4 separate regions of the Homo sapiens genome follow, and regions 1, 2 and 4 are each linked to region 3. The links are contacts of gene promoters, found by promoter capture Hi-C in blood cells and fetal thymus (Javierre and others, 2016). All regions are on one chromosome and are shown on one strand. Each heading gives the region's core, a stretch centred on a gene start or on the middle of the fragment in contact. The rest is flanking DNA. Distances are from core to core; before and after follow the strand shown. Region 1 overlaps RASGRF2 (Ras protein specific guanine nucleotide releasing factor 2). Region 2 overlaps MSH3 (mutS homolog 3). Region 3 holds the start of RASGRF2 (Ras protein specific guanine nucleotide releasing factor 2). Region 4 overlaps MSH3 (mutS homolog 3).

The links. The method cuts DNA at HindIII sites, captures the fragments that hold promoters and counts their contacts. A CHiCAGO score of 5 or more calls a contact.
Region 1: a fragment that was not itself captured here is called in contact with the fragment with the promoter of RASGRF2 in region 3 in 1 of 17 cell types (endothelial precursors); the score reaches 8.8 in endothelial precursors.
Region 2: a contact is called between a fragment that was not itself captured here and the fragment with the promoter of RASGRF2 in region 3, in 1 of 17 cell types (M2 macrophages). The highest score is 5.1, in M2 macrophages.
Region 4: a contact is called between a fragment that was not itself captured here and the fragment with the promoter of RASGRF2 in region 3, in 4 of 17 cell types (total CD8 T cells, naive CD4 T cells, naive CD8 T cells and 1 more). The highest score is 6.6, in total CD8 T cells.

The regions. Positions count from the first base shown.
Region 1 is chr5:81,166,711-81,169,825 of GRCh38, reverse strand. The region is part of intron 17 of RASGRF2 (Ras protein specific guanine nucleotide releasing factor 2); the gene reads right to left. Among named protein-coding and RNA genes, the nearest start is that of CKMT2, 65 kb to the left of the region's middle. The HindIII fragment of the contact is 4,695 bases long and covers 1-3,115 here.
Region 2 is chr5:80,720,856-80,723,992 of GRCh38, reverse strand. The region is part of intron 8 of MSH3 (mutS homolog 3); the gene reads right to left. Among named protein-coding and RNA genes, the nearest start is that of DHFR, 67 kb to the right of the region's middle. The HindIII fragment of the contact is 215 bases long and covers 1,555-1,769 here.
Region 3 is chr5:80,958,877-80,961,705 of GRCh38, reverse strand. RASGRF2 (Ras protein specific guanine nucleotide releasing factor 2) reads right to left here and starts at 1,343. Exons shown (of 27, transcript NM_006909.3): 1 at 680-1,343. The coding sequence starts at 967. RASGRF2-AS1 (RASGRF2 antisense RNA 1) reads left to right here and starts at 799. Exons shown (of 4, transcript NR_105015.1): 1 at 799-925. RefSeq lists an enhancer at 519-1,240. The HindIII fragment of the contact is 16,452 bases long and covers 1-2,829 here.
Region 4 is chr5:80,760,010-80,762,936 of GRCh38, reverse strand. MSH3 (mutS homolog 3) reads right to left here. Exons shown (of 24, transcript NM_002439.5): 13 at 1,259-1,391. Among named protein-coding and RNA genes, the nearest start is that of DHFR, 110 kb to the right of the region's middle. The HindIII fragment of the contact is 1,290 bases long and covers 826-2,115 here.

The DNA.
Region 1 (3,115 bases), core at 493-2,992, 210 kb before region 3:
TGCAGGTGGTGCAGGTGATGCAGGTGGTGCAGGTTTGGGCAAAGGCTGTGGCTGTAGATGGTAAGAATCATTGGTGATGGAGGGGCTAAGATGTGCTGATCAATCAGATCTGAAGGTCTGTACTGAATTGAATAGTATTCTCCCCAAATCCACATCCATGCAGAACCTGTGAAGGTTACTTTATTTGGAAACAGGGTCTTTGCAGATGTGACCAAGTTAAGATGTCAAAGTGGATTATGGTGCGTCCTAATCATTATAAGAGGGAAATTTGGACACAGACACACCTAGAGGGAAGAAGACCATGTGATGAAAGAGGCAGATATTGGGAGTCATGATGCCACCAGCTGGGGAACCCCAAGGATTGCCAGCAAACACCAGAAGCTAGGAGGAGGCAAGGCAGGATTCTCCCCCAGAGCCTCCAGAAAGTATGGCCCTGATGACACCTTGGTTTTGGACTTCTGGCCTCCAGAACAGTGAGAAAATAAATCGTTGTTTTTTTAGCCACCCAGATTGAGGTACTTTGTTATGGAAGCCCTACAAAAACGAATTTAAGGTCTGAGGGAAAGAGGAATCAGGAATGGCTCCACTGTTCAGGACCTGTTCAGCTGGGTAGATGATGATACCACTTCCTGAGATGGGGCAAGGGCAGGTTTGAGGGAGGAAATCAAGAGTTTGATTTTAGACATAGTTAAGTGTGAGATGCCTCTAGACATCTAATGATCACACTGGAAATGCAAATTGAGAGTATCAGCATTTAAACAGTACTTAAAAATCAGAAGTCTGGATGGGCTCACATAGGTACAGAGTGTACCAGACAAAGCCCGTGGCCCCACAACCAGGAGATATTGGTCAAAGAGCCAGCAAAGCAGACCAAAAGAAGGAGGAGAGCAAGTCCTGGAAACCCAGGCACATTAGTCTCATGGAACCCAAGAGGACAGGAAATATTTCAACAAGGAAGAAGTGATCGCTGTGTCAAATGCCACTGAGAGGTTGAGTAAGACAAGGGGATTGGATTTGACTCTGGCAAGCTATCGGTTGTCAGTGACCTGGGTCAGTCATTCCAAGAGTGACGGAGTAAAAGTCCAAATTGAGGGGAAAAAGAAGGTGATGAAGTGGAGACATTAAGTATGGCCAATATTTTCAACACATTGTGCTTTGAAAAGAAGCAGAGGAAGGGAGCCATAGCTGGTAAAATGGGTGATATTAAGACACCGGTGCTGGGGGCAGTGGCTCACACTTGTAATCTGAGCACTTTGGGAGGCTGAGGTGGGTGGATCACCTGAGGTCAGGAGTTCGAGACCAGCCTGACCAATATGGTGAAACCCCAACTCTACTAAAAGTACAAAAATTAGCTGAGCGTGGCGGTGTGCGCCTGTAGCCCCAGCTACTTGGGAGGTTGAGACAGAAGAATTGCTTGAATTCAGGAGGCGGAGGTTGTGGTGAGCCAAGGTTACGCCACTGCACTCTAACTTGGGCGACAGAGCCAGACTCTGTCTTAAAAAAAAAAAAAAAAAAAGAGAAGAAAAAAAAAGACGCTGGCATGCTATAGGAATGATTGATAAAGGGGGAAATTGATGTCAATAGAGAAAAGGGTAACTGCAGGAGAACAGTTCTTAAGGAGGTGAAAAGGGATGGGATGGGGCAAAGCGGAGGGGCTGACCCAAGGGCAGTGTGGGGATGATTACTCCACAGCCTCGGGGAGAGGGCAGAGGCTGAGACCAAGTGTAGTGTGCTGGCGAAATCAGTGGAGGGAAGAGGTCATCCTTGACCATTTGTATCTGCTTTTGCTGTGAAATATGAGACAAGATCATCAGCCAAGCCTGCAAGGGGATGTGGAGATCTGAGAAGAGGGGAAGGCGGTAAAGGGTAAAAGGCAGTGTAGGAACATGACTTTACTAGGATTGTCTGGCAGTGCAGAATATCCATTTAAGATCTGAAGTCTTCCTGTGAGTCCCAGCAGCACCACCCTAAGAGTCTCTCCAGAGAATGGCTCTGCTGTGTCTGAGTGCCGAGTCGGCCTGACCCCGTCATTGTTCAGTCATGCTCTTCGTTGCTCCTACTCCCCACCTTTGATCTTTCCATCAGAACTTGCCAGGGGAGGCATCTGCTTTTCCTCATGTGCCCTGGAGGCAGCCACAGAGAGGAGAGGCCGAGGGGTCAGAGTGACGGCATCCCTGCCTGCAGCTGCTCATGGGGGCTTCCATTTTCAATTCTGTGCCCTGCGTTGGAACTTACAGAAAGCCCAGCGAGGAGAACACCACTATCACTGAGTGCACACTGATGTGTGCAGTGAAACCCCTGCAGTTAAGAATTTCAGACGGATTCTAACCAACTTGCTGTAGAATTCTATTCAAGTGGATTAGTTTAACAACTGACTGATTGATGATTGCAAATTTTAACAATCTCTCGGTTTTGCAGTTTCTCTTGTTTGTGTCCCTACTGGTGATGCTTTTCTGCCCTGCCCCCTCATCCGAGGCTGCTATGGGGCAGAAACAATAGCTACGTCTTGGTTGGCCTCCAGTCCTCAGGACTGATACAAAACAGGCCTTGGATAAATTGGTTGCTGTGTGTATGTATTACAGTGAGTTCTTCTAACTGTGTTAAGTAGGAATTTCTGCTGGGAAGACCAGACTTGGACAGGCCAGGTCCTTTATGCTGACAGCCTTGTATCCGTCACTCTACCCATGGAGGGCAATGTAACATAACTCACAATGGTGCTAACAGCTCAGTGTGGTGATGCTTTAACTCCATACTGCCAGGATCATCCCGTCTCTTCACTCGGGGAAGACCCTGCCACCTATGACTTAAAGACTGAAGTCATTTCATGAGGGGGATCAGGAGACACCCTAATTTCCCTTCTTTCAAAAGCTCTCTGCAGTTTCGTCCTCATTCTTTTCCTTTACCCCTGGGGAAAGCTAAAGATGAGCTGGGAAGAACATCTCAGAAGGGACTGGGAATTTTTAAATCGGCTTAGCTCAATGAACGGCCTTAGAAAAATCCCCTCATCTCGGGTTCTCAGTGTCCTTTTTGGTCACAAAAGGAGCTTATCTGGATGCCTCTAAGGTCCCTTCCTTAGTGTCTCCTTGGATGAAGCTCAGGTTGCCCACCATGCATC
Region 2 (3,137 bases), core at 413-2,912, 240 kb after region 3:
CCTGAGCTCAGGAGTTTAAGACCAGCCTGGGCAACATGGCTCTCTCTACAAAAAATACAAAAATTAGCCAGGCACGGTAGCACATGCCTGTAGTCCCAGCTACTTGGAAGGCTGAGGTGGGAGGATCACTTGAGCCCAGGGAGTCAAGGCTGCAATGAGCTGTGATCACACCACTGCACTCCAGCCTGAGCAAGAGTGAAACATCGTCTCAAATTAAAAAAAAAAATTAATAAAAGAAGCAAACATTATCTTGAATGTGATGTATATTACCATGCATGTTTTCATGTTTTATAAAAAACTGTATCATTTCATGCTTTTCATTTTGTATGAGTGGTACTTTATCATAACCATACAAATTGATTTTATCCTCAATGTTACACTATTTCTAAGATTTATACATGAAGATACATGTGCTTTTTACATTTTAACAGCAGCTAAGTATTTTATTATTTCTTATATTTTCTAATAAATTTAAGATCTGCTTTCTGAATTTATTCACCAGAATTTATCTTTGTGGATAGTGTGAAGTTATAAATACAATTTCATTTTCCATATAATTAATGATCAAAGCAGCAATTAGCATTCCATACGTCCCTGATGATTTATAATGTTACTTTCACTGCATATTGCATTTCTATATATGTTTTTGGATTCTCCATGCTGTTCCACTGGTCTTTTTGTCTATCTCTGTATCACGACCACAGTCTCTTAATTTCTAGGGCTTGGCATCTATATCTAAAGTGGCAAGGTCCCTACCTTGCTCTTCAAGATTGTCTTGGCTACTCCTGGCCCTTTGATTTTCTTTGTGAATTTTAGGTTCACTTACCTTCGGTCTTCACAAGAAACTTACTGGGATTACTTTATTTATTTATTTATTTATTTATTTATTTATTTATTTTTAGACAGAGTTTCACTCCGTCGCCTAGGCTGGACCAGGGCTCATTGCAGCATCATCGACCTCCCAGGCTGAAGCAATCCTCCTTCATCAGCCCCAAGTAGCTAGGACTACAGATAGGCATTACCACGCCCAGCTAATTTTTTTGTATTTTTAGTAGATACAGGGTTTCGCCATGTTGCCCAGGCTGGTGTCAAACTCCTGGACTCAAGCGATCTGCCCACCTCGGCCTCCCAAAGTGCTGGGATTATGGGCGTGAGCCATTGCGCCCAGCCCTTATTGGTATTTTAATTTGATATGTAATGAATTAATTTAGAGAGAAATAACATCTTAAATAGAGGTATCACATTATCAAAGCTGGTATATTCTTCTATTCATGTCTATTATATCCAACAGTAATGTTCTGTAATTTCCTCCATGAAGGTTTTATACAGCTTTGGTTGTGCTCACTCTTAGATACGTACACATACCTCTCTCTGGTCTTTATCTGAAACAGGAACAGGTGTTGGGTGGGGCCCGGCCCAGCATCAGGGGACTCTACTGCACATTAAAGTTAAAGAACCACTGACCTATACAAATAAAAGACTGCTGCTATAATGAAAATTAGTAGATGATAGGAAAGAGTATTCCCAAAGCAAAGAGTATTTCCTTTGGAAGCTTATCTTATGTATATTGATGTAGGTATATCTAATGATCTAAGAACATCAAAAGTTATCTGTAAAGTAAAGCTATACTATAAACAACTGAGTTAAGATACTTTAGAAAGTTTCTCAATATTTTTTTCTTTGGCTCCCTATGCAGAACACTTTCTTGGTCTCTACATAAAACTGAAAAAAGACTTGAAACCATCCCCAGCACCAAAATAAAGCAAGCTTTTTTCTATTTTTATGATTTTCCTTCCTGAGCAAGGAGATCGTATGAGTTGATTTAAAAGTTCAATTACAATGCCTTGTAATAAATAAACAATAGTGAAACTTTATTACCTATTTTGCTTTACAATTAGGTTAAAATTCAGAAAGAAGGATTTATGACAGAAAATCTATAGTTTATATATTTTTTTTCTTCACAAAAACAGTTAAACAAATTCTCATGGGCATATGCCACACAACAATCACTGTTTCTTAGTTTACAATCTAAGACAACAGACAGTAATGTGGTAGACATATGTAAAAGATACAGAAAACACAGAAACACAAATGGCTATACCTCGTCACAAAAGCAGAACACTCCCTCCCTCAATATTATGAAAAGTAGAAATAAATGTATCATTTTATCAATGTAACACACATTTGTAATTTTTTGCTATTTTCCTTGATATAATATTTTATTGAAATAATTGTTGTTTTTTGTTAGATTCAAGCATAGTTTTTCAGTCTCCCTAAATCCTGCCATAAAAAGAGACTTTAATAACCAAACTAAAACCCACAGATAACATGTACTACACTATAACTGCATCTCAAGATATTAAGAACCCCAAAATGCAAGCAGGTGGGATGAACAATAAGATACAAATGCTATCAGCAACCATGTGAGAAGAAGCAGACAAAAGCAACAGAACTCTAACAATCGGAAAACAGAAACAACACAAAACAGCAACGAGGTACTCACTGGAAAGCACAGTAGGACATTTTGAGGAGCTGAAATTGGGAGTGCAGTTTGTATATTTGATAATAGTGACTACAAGGAGTCCACAGTAAAGCCTGAAGGGGCTTGAGAACTCTAGGCCCTATGAATTCACAAAACCAGTGATGCAAAGCACTTTTTTAGGACAAATCTTACCCTGAGGAAAAACTCCTATGAACAGAATCTAAAATGGGGAGAAAAGGATAACAGGGTAATTGTTAAAAAGACAAAAGTACTACAGAACAGAGCCAGGAGAAAATGAGCTGTCACATTTTCAAATACTTTGACAATATGCAGCAAAATGAACCTCAAAAAATCATATTTTGTGAAAGAAATCAAGCCAAAAAATTTTAATATATATTGTAAGATATCCTGTATTTGAAATTCTGTAAAAGGTAAAATATACTGGTGGAAAATTAATAATTGCCTAGGGCCAGATGTGAAGGGAGGGGACCAACTGCAAAAGCACATGGAAAGTTTTAGGGTAAAAGTATTCTTCCACATCTCGACTGTGATAGTGGTTACAAAATTGTGTAAAACTACCACTTACACTTACAGTTGTGTAAACTGTACACTTAAAAATGAACTGTTTATAAATAATACTTGGAGTTAAAAAACA
Region 3 (2,829 bases), core at 94-2,593:
ACAGAAGCGTTCTTTAAAAATGCCCACATTTTTAAACATAGCAAGAATGTGGCTACCAAATATTAATCCTGAGGAATATGAATACACATTTACCTTCATAATTACACCCAGCAGGTCAAATGTTAGCAAGGCCAACTGACCGAAATCACAAAGACTGATTGAAAATGACCAACAGAAAGTGTCTGTCCGGCTTGGGAGCCCCGCTTGTTCCCAGCCCAACCAGTGGTCAAACATCTGCAGGCAAAGAAATCTACACGCGCCAGCCGGGTATGGCAGAAATCAAACTTTTCCAAATAAGTTAGTTCCGTCTTGCCAATCTACACCCAACAGGTGTCAATACATGTCACCAGACAAAAATCTGGCGAGCCAGGTCTAGAGAAGCAATAGATGGTTGGCAGAGAAGCTGAAACGACTCGACCTCTACCAGGGTAATGAAAGCAAGTCGGGCCACTATTCTGACTGATCACTTGGCAGTGGGGTGGAGGGGTATGGAGATGGGAGAATCCCTGGATGAAGATCGGAAGGAGCGTGGAGATGTCCCGCCACTGGTGACGCGGGGGGATTTCGGAGCATAGTCCCCGCACTCTTTCACGACCCCCGACCCCTGATCCCCGGATTAGGACGGCAAGGGAGTGCGGCGATCAAGGCTGGGAGACCGCGGAGAGAAGGCGCGCGGTACCTGCTTGTCCAGCGCGTCTCGGACGCCTCCCTGCCCGGCGCCGGCCCTGGGTGGCGCGGGCGTTCGTTCGCAGCTGCAGCCCTCCAGGAGGTACATGCCCGCCGGGCGGCAGCTCTGCTCGCCCTCGAAGTAGAAGAGCACATTCTGGTAGAGGGCGAACCACTTCTCGTGCCAGCGGCTCGCCTCGGCCGTCTTCTTACTCAGGAAGCCGCGCTTGGTGCCCTCCTTGCGCGCCAGAAAGGCCAGGTACAGGGCGTGCCCCTCGTTGTAGCGCACGCTCTTCTGCATGGTGCGGGTGCGGAGGGCTCACGGGTGGCCGCCGGTCTCACCCCTGCCTCGCGGCCATGGCCCAGCTGGCTCCCTCGAGGGCGCGACCGCTCAGGTCCCGGCCGGCGAAGGGCGCCCCCTTTCCCCACGCCGCGCGCAGGGCACCCCGCCCGCTTTCGGGAGGCCGCGGCGCGCGGTGGCAGGGGCGCGGGCTGGGGCCGAGGCACGCTCTCCGCCCTAACCACCACCCTCCCGGCCGAGCCCCCGGAGCCCCCCAAGCCCCCAACGCCCGCGTGGAGCGCGGCCCCGCGAGGGCGCCCGAGCCGGCCGCCGCTTCGCCCAAAGTTGCGGGAGCCGAGCCCCCGCGGCGGGCTGGGGCGGCAGCCGGGGAAGGACTGTCCTCGGGCAACGCGCTCCGGGAGACAGAAGGTAAAACGTCACGTGGGAGCTCAGCTGTAATCGGCTTGGAGACCGATTTAAAGGGCAAAGTCGGCGCGGCGCCGGCGGTGGCGCAGCCCGCTTGCCCCGGCTCGCGTCCCTCCCTCGCCCGCCCCGGCCCGGGCCGCTGCCTCTGCTCGGGCGCCCGCCGGGATGGGGCGGATCAGGGAGGTGGAGGCGCCCGGCCGCACCACACACCCGCTCACACGCGCTCGCACACTCGCGCACAACGCGCGCACACACACACGCACACCCACACACACGCAGACCAGTACATTCACCCAGATCCACAATGCACACACTCAGACGCACAAAAATACACTCACAAATGCACACAAACACAATGCGCGCACATATGCACAAAAACACACGCGCACACACTCATGACACACAAATACACATTCTCACAACGCTCACACTCAACACACAGTCACAACGCACAAATGCATATAGACAAATACACCCACAATGTGCGTTCCCGCGCACAAAAATAAAACCCACATTCAGATACACACTTAAGGAGCTACACACATGCACGCAGTGATATGCTCACTTACACACACATTCACACACAACCCACACATTCACTCAAACCCACATTCAAACATACATTCATACACACATTACACTCATACAGTCACACAAACAGCACACATATACTCACACGTTCACAATCATACAGACTCATAAGCAGATAATCAAACACACACACAGATGAACACACATGTACATTCACAAATTCATCCAAAAATACACACAAAGCACTCACACACGTATTCGCACGAATCCACACACTTTCACAAACCCACTCACACATACACACACACTCACATGCCACATCCATAAGTACGTTCCCATGGCAGTAGGTAGAGTCACAGAGTGGCTTTGCATAGCCCGCATCCTTGGCTTTTCTGCTTGTACCTGCATTGTAGTATTTAAAACTGCCGGTAAAGGTTAAGGAGAGTGGCCCAAGTGTTCCCGGAAAGGCATCAGATGCCGAAGTTCTTTCGGAATGCCTGTTATTTCACAGTGGTAAGATGCTAAATTTTAAGTGCCGAGTTTTCAACCTGGAAAAAAATACCCAAATAAGGGACACTTTGCTGCCCAGGGCAGAATCCAACCCCAAAGGCCAGCTGTCACAGGCTCATCGTTTGTAGGACTGGATTCATTTGATTAACAAATCTGACAGGTACAACCAGAAAACCAAGAGCCACCCCCCCGCCCCAACCCCATGCTGTAAAAATGTAAGTGGAAAAGAAATAATGTAGCCAGCAGCTGTGAGAGAAAGCCAGTGAAACCCCCGGGGAGGGCCTATATTTGATTCTGCTATACACATTTTTTATTTTCCCCAGTCATTTATCACTAAAACGGAGTGCCATCATAAAATGTTTATTGTTAAAAGTAAATAATAATGCTTTTCTGGGTGATGAGTCTACGACAATACA
Region 4 (2,927 bases), core at 221-2,720, 200 kb after region 3:
AGGTAGAGGTTGCAGTGAGCCGAGATCACGCCATTGCACTCCAGCCTGGGTGACGAGAGTAAAAGTCTGTCTCAAAAATAAAATAAAATAAAATAACATAAAATAACATAACATAACATAACATAACATAACATAACATAACATAAAATAAAATAAAAAATTAAAATAAAATAAAATAAAACAAAATAAAACAAAATAAAATAAAAATTTAGGCACATAAAAATGGTTACACAGTAAAATTATTAAATTGGCAAGGAGTTACATTTGGAGGAAAAATAAAATTTGCTTATGAAAAGTGGCAACCAGAAAAAAAAAATGGCAGTCAAGATAACTACATCAAACATGATAGCATCCAAAAGACACAGCCAATGAAAACACAGTCAAGAATCCTGGGTCTAAATACAGATTCTGTTACTAGCAAGTTACTAAACCTCTGAGCATCATCATATTAGCCAAGGTAATTCAAGTGGTTGCAGCATTTTATATATATACATATATATATACACACACATATATAGCATTAGATATAATTTCTTATTAGTAAGAAGGTAATAAAAATAGTAACTTCTCAATGTCATAAAGTTTTGATAAGGAACAAAGAGTATAAGGTATGTGAATGACTTCTGCAAAAAGTAAAACACCATAGTTTATAGTGTTTTATCATTTAAAAATATTAATAATTTTTTTAATTTTAGGCATATTTTGAAGATAACCTAAATTATTTCCCTAACCGTGGAAAATGACTCATTTTTGCTATGACTCAAACTGTAAAGCTTAAGTGATAAAAATCAAAATAATCCTTTACTCACCTTCAATATCCAAGCTTGTTTGCATACTAACTACCACCACAGATGTTATACTAGCAGATTTTTCCATAGTTTAAGAAACAATAAGTTGTTCTAAGATCAAAAGAAATAAGGTTTTTTTTTTCTAAAATAACAAGTCTACATAAATTTCCTATTTTGATAATAGTCTGTACTTTCAGGATGAAACAGGAGAATACCCTATATTATAACAGAAGGGCCTCTATGTTGCTGTAGTTAAGGCACATGAGAAAACTTTATTTTCTACAATGGAAAAATTGGAATAACTCTAATTTGTACTATTAAAATTTCTGAGGATTCAGCTACTCTCGCATGCTATTTGTAAGATTTTACAAAATAAAATAATAATAGAGCTCTCAAAAGTTTTCTTTTAATATATAGTGTCCTCAAGCTGAAGAACACTGTCAGCTTTAATAGATTTCTATCACACTTACTTTTTTGTGATAAATGCTACAGAGTCCCCTCTCTATGTCGGGCAATTTACGTAGATGATTTTCTATCTGACCAAACACACTAGATTCTGAATGGAGAACTTCCGATACAGCATCAAGCCGGGCATTTATTTCCCTGTGAGAAAAGAGTAATAGCAATAATCAGATATGTTAGGAATTCAGAATATAGACATTTCCCACTCTAATGCCCAGGAATGTGACACAGCCACTTATTAGGCACAAAGGAAACTCCTCCTTCATACTGAGATAGTCATGTGGGAAGGACTCCCTGACAAAACTCCAATGGGCGTATGCATTGAGAGGAGGGTGCACTGGGGTGGAGACACAGAAGTTCACGCCTTTGGCAGCAGGGAGGAGCCTGGCCCCTCCTCCTCCTGGGTGGAACCTGGGATTACAGTCTGTGAGGCGGGAAGCATACTAGCAAGATTCTCGTTCTGTCTTGTTGGAGAGTCTTTGTTTCCCTTTTTATTGCTCTTTGCCCAATAAATTCCATTTTTCTCCTCCTTCGAATTGTCTGCGGGCCTAATTTTACATGGCTGTGTGATGAGGACCACCCTCCCCCAACCTCGCTGTCTTTAACTGAACTAAGGAAAAAGTCCTACAACAATATATCTGGTCCTTCCATGCCTCTTATTATTATCTGAATCAAAGAGCAGGTATCATACAAGGAAATTCACTAGCTGGGTTTGACAAAGACAGGCTCACCAAGCAAACACAAAGACTACATTTCCCAGTCTCCCCTGTAGTTAGGTATGGCCATGTACCTCAGTTCTGAAGCATGGGTGGGAATGATGTAAGCCACCTCTAGCCCTGGCCCATAAAAACTTCCTGAATAAGCTTTCACATTCTCCTAATCCCCTTTGCCAGCTAGGCAAGCTTGTGAGCCTCATGGTAACTCCATCAGCCTGAGCCCACAGTGGAGCAGAAAATCCACCATTCCCGGATCTGTTACCAATTGAACTTATATTAGCAAGAAATAAACTTCTAATGTATTTAAGCCACTTAGACGGAGAATTTGTTTGCTGATAGCTTGCATTACCTTGGCTAATATAATAGTTAAACAATGACCAACAAGACGACCTAGTGGTGGTGGTGATGGCTGAACTGACCAACTGTTTGAATGAATTAAATTAAACATATTGACCCTGACCAAAGATTGGGGAGTAGCAATAGAAAGTGCAGAGGATATGACATTCAGATACATAGGAGATCAGTGCTGCGGGATTTTACCAACGGCTACACCTTAAGTGATGACTCAACTTAAAACGGAAATCTGATGGACTAAATGTATCATCAATGAGATGTGGTCCATGAAGTACCTATAAACATCAAAGGCCCACACTAGGTATAATGACCATCTGTAGTATTAAAAACTAAGATAAGTAAACATGTCTGGTGAGTAGTAAGTCCTCAGTAAGGATTTAAAGTGTTTGTAAATGAATGAATGAATAAATAAACAAGTGGATGAAAGAATGAACTGATGTTTTGGGGGAAAGGAGGCATCAGCCACTGAATAAACTTGGTGTCTCTCAAAATTCTGTTGACATCATACACACTGATATGAAAAGCAAATCTTAGATCAGGATCCTGGCTAGATTACAATCAGACTGAGGACTTTCGATTTAGTGAGTGCTTTTGTCTTTATTATCCT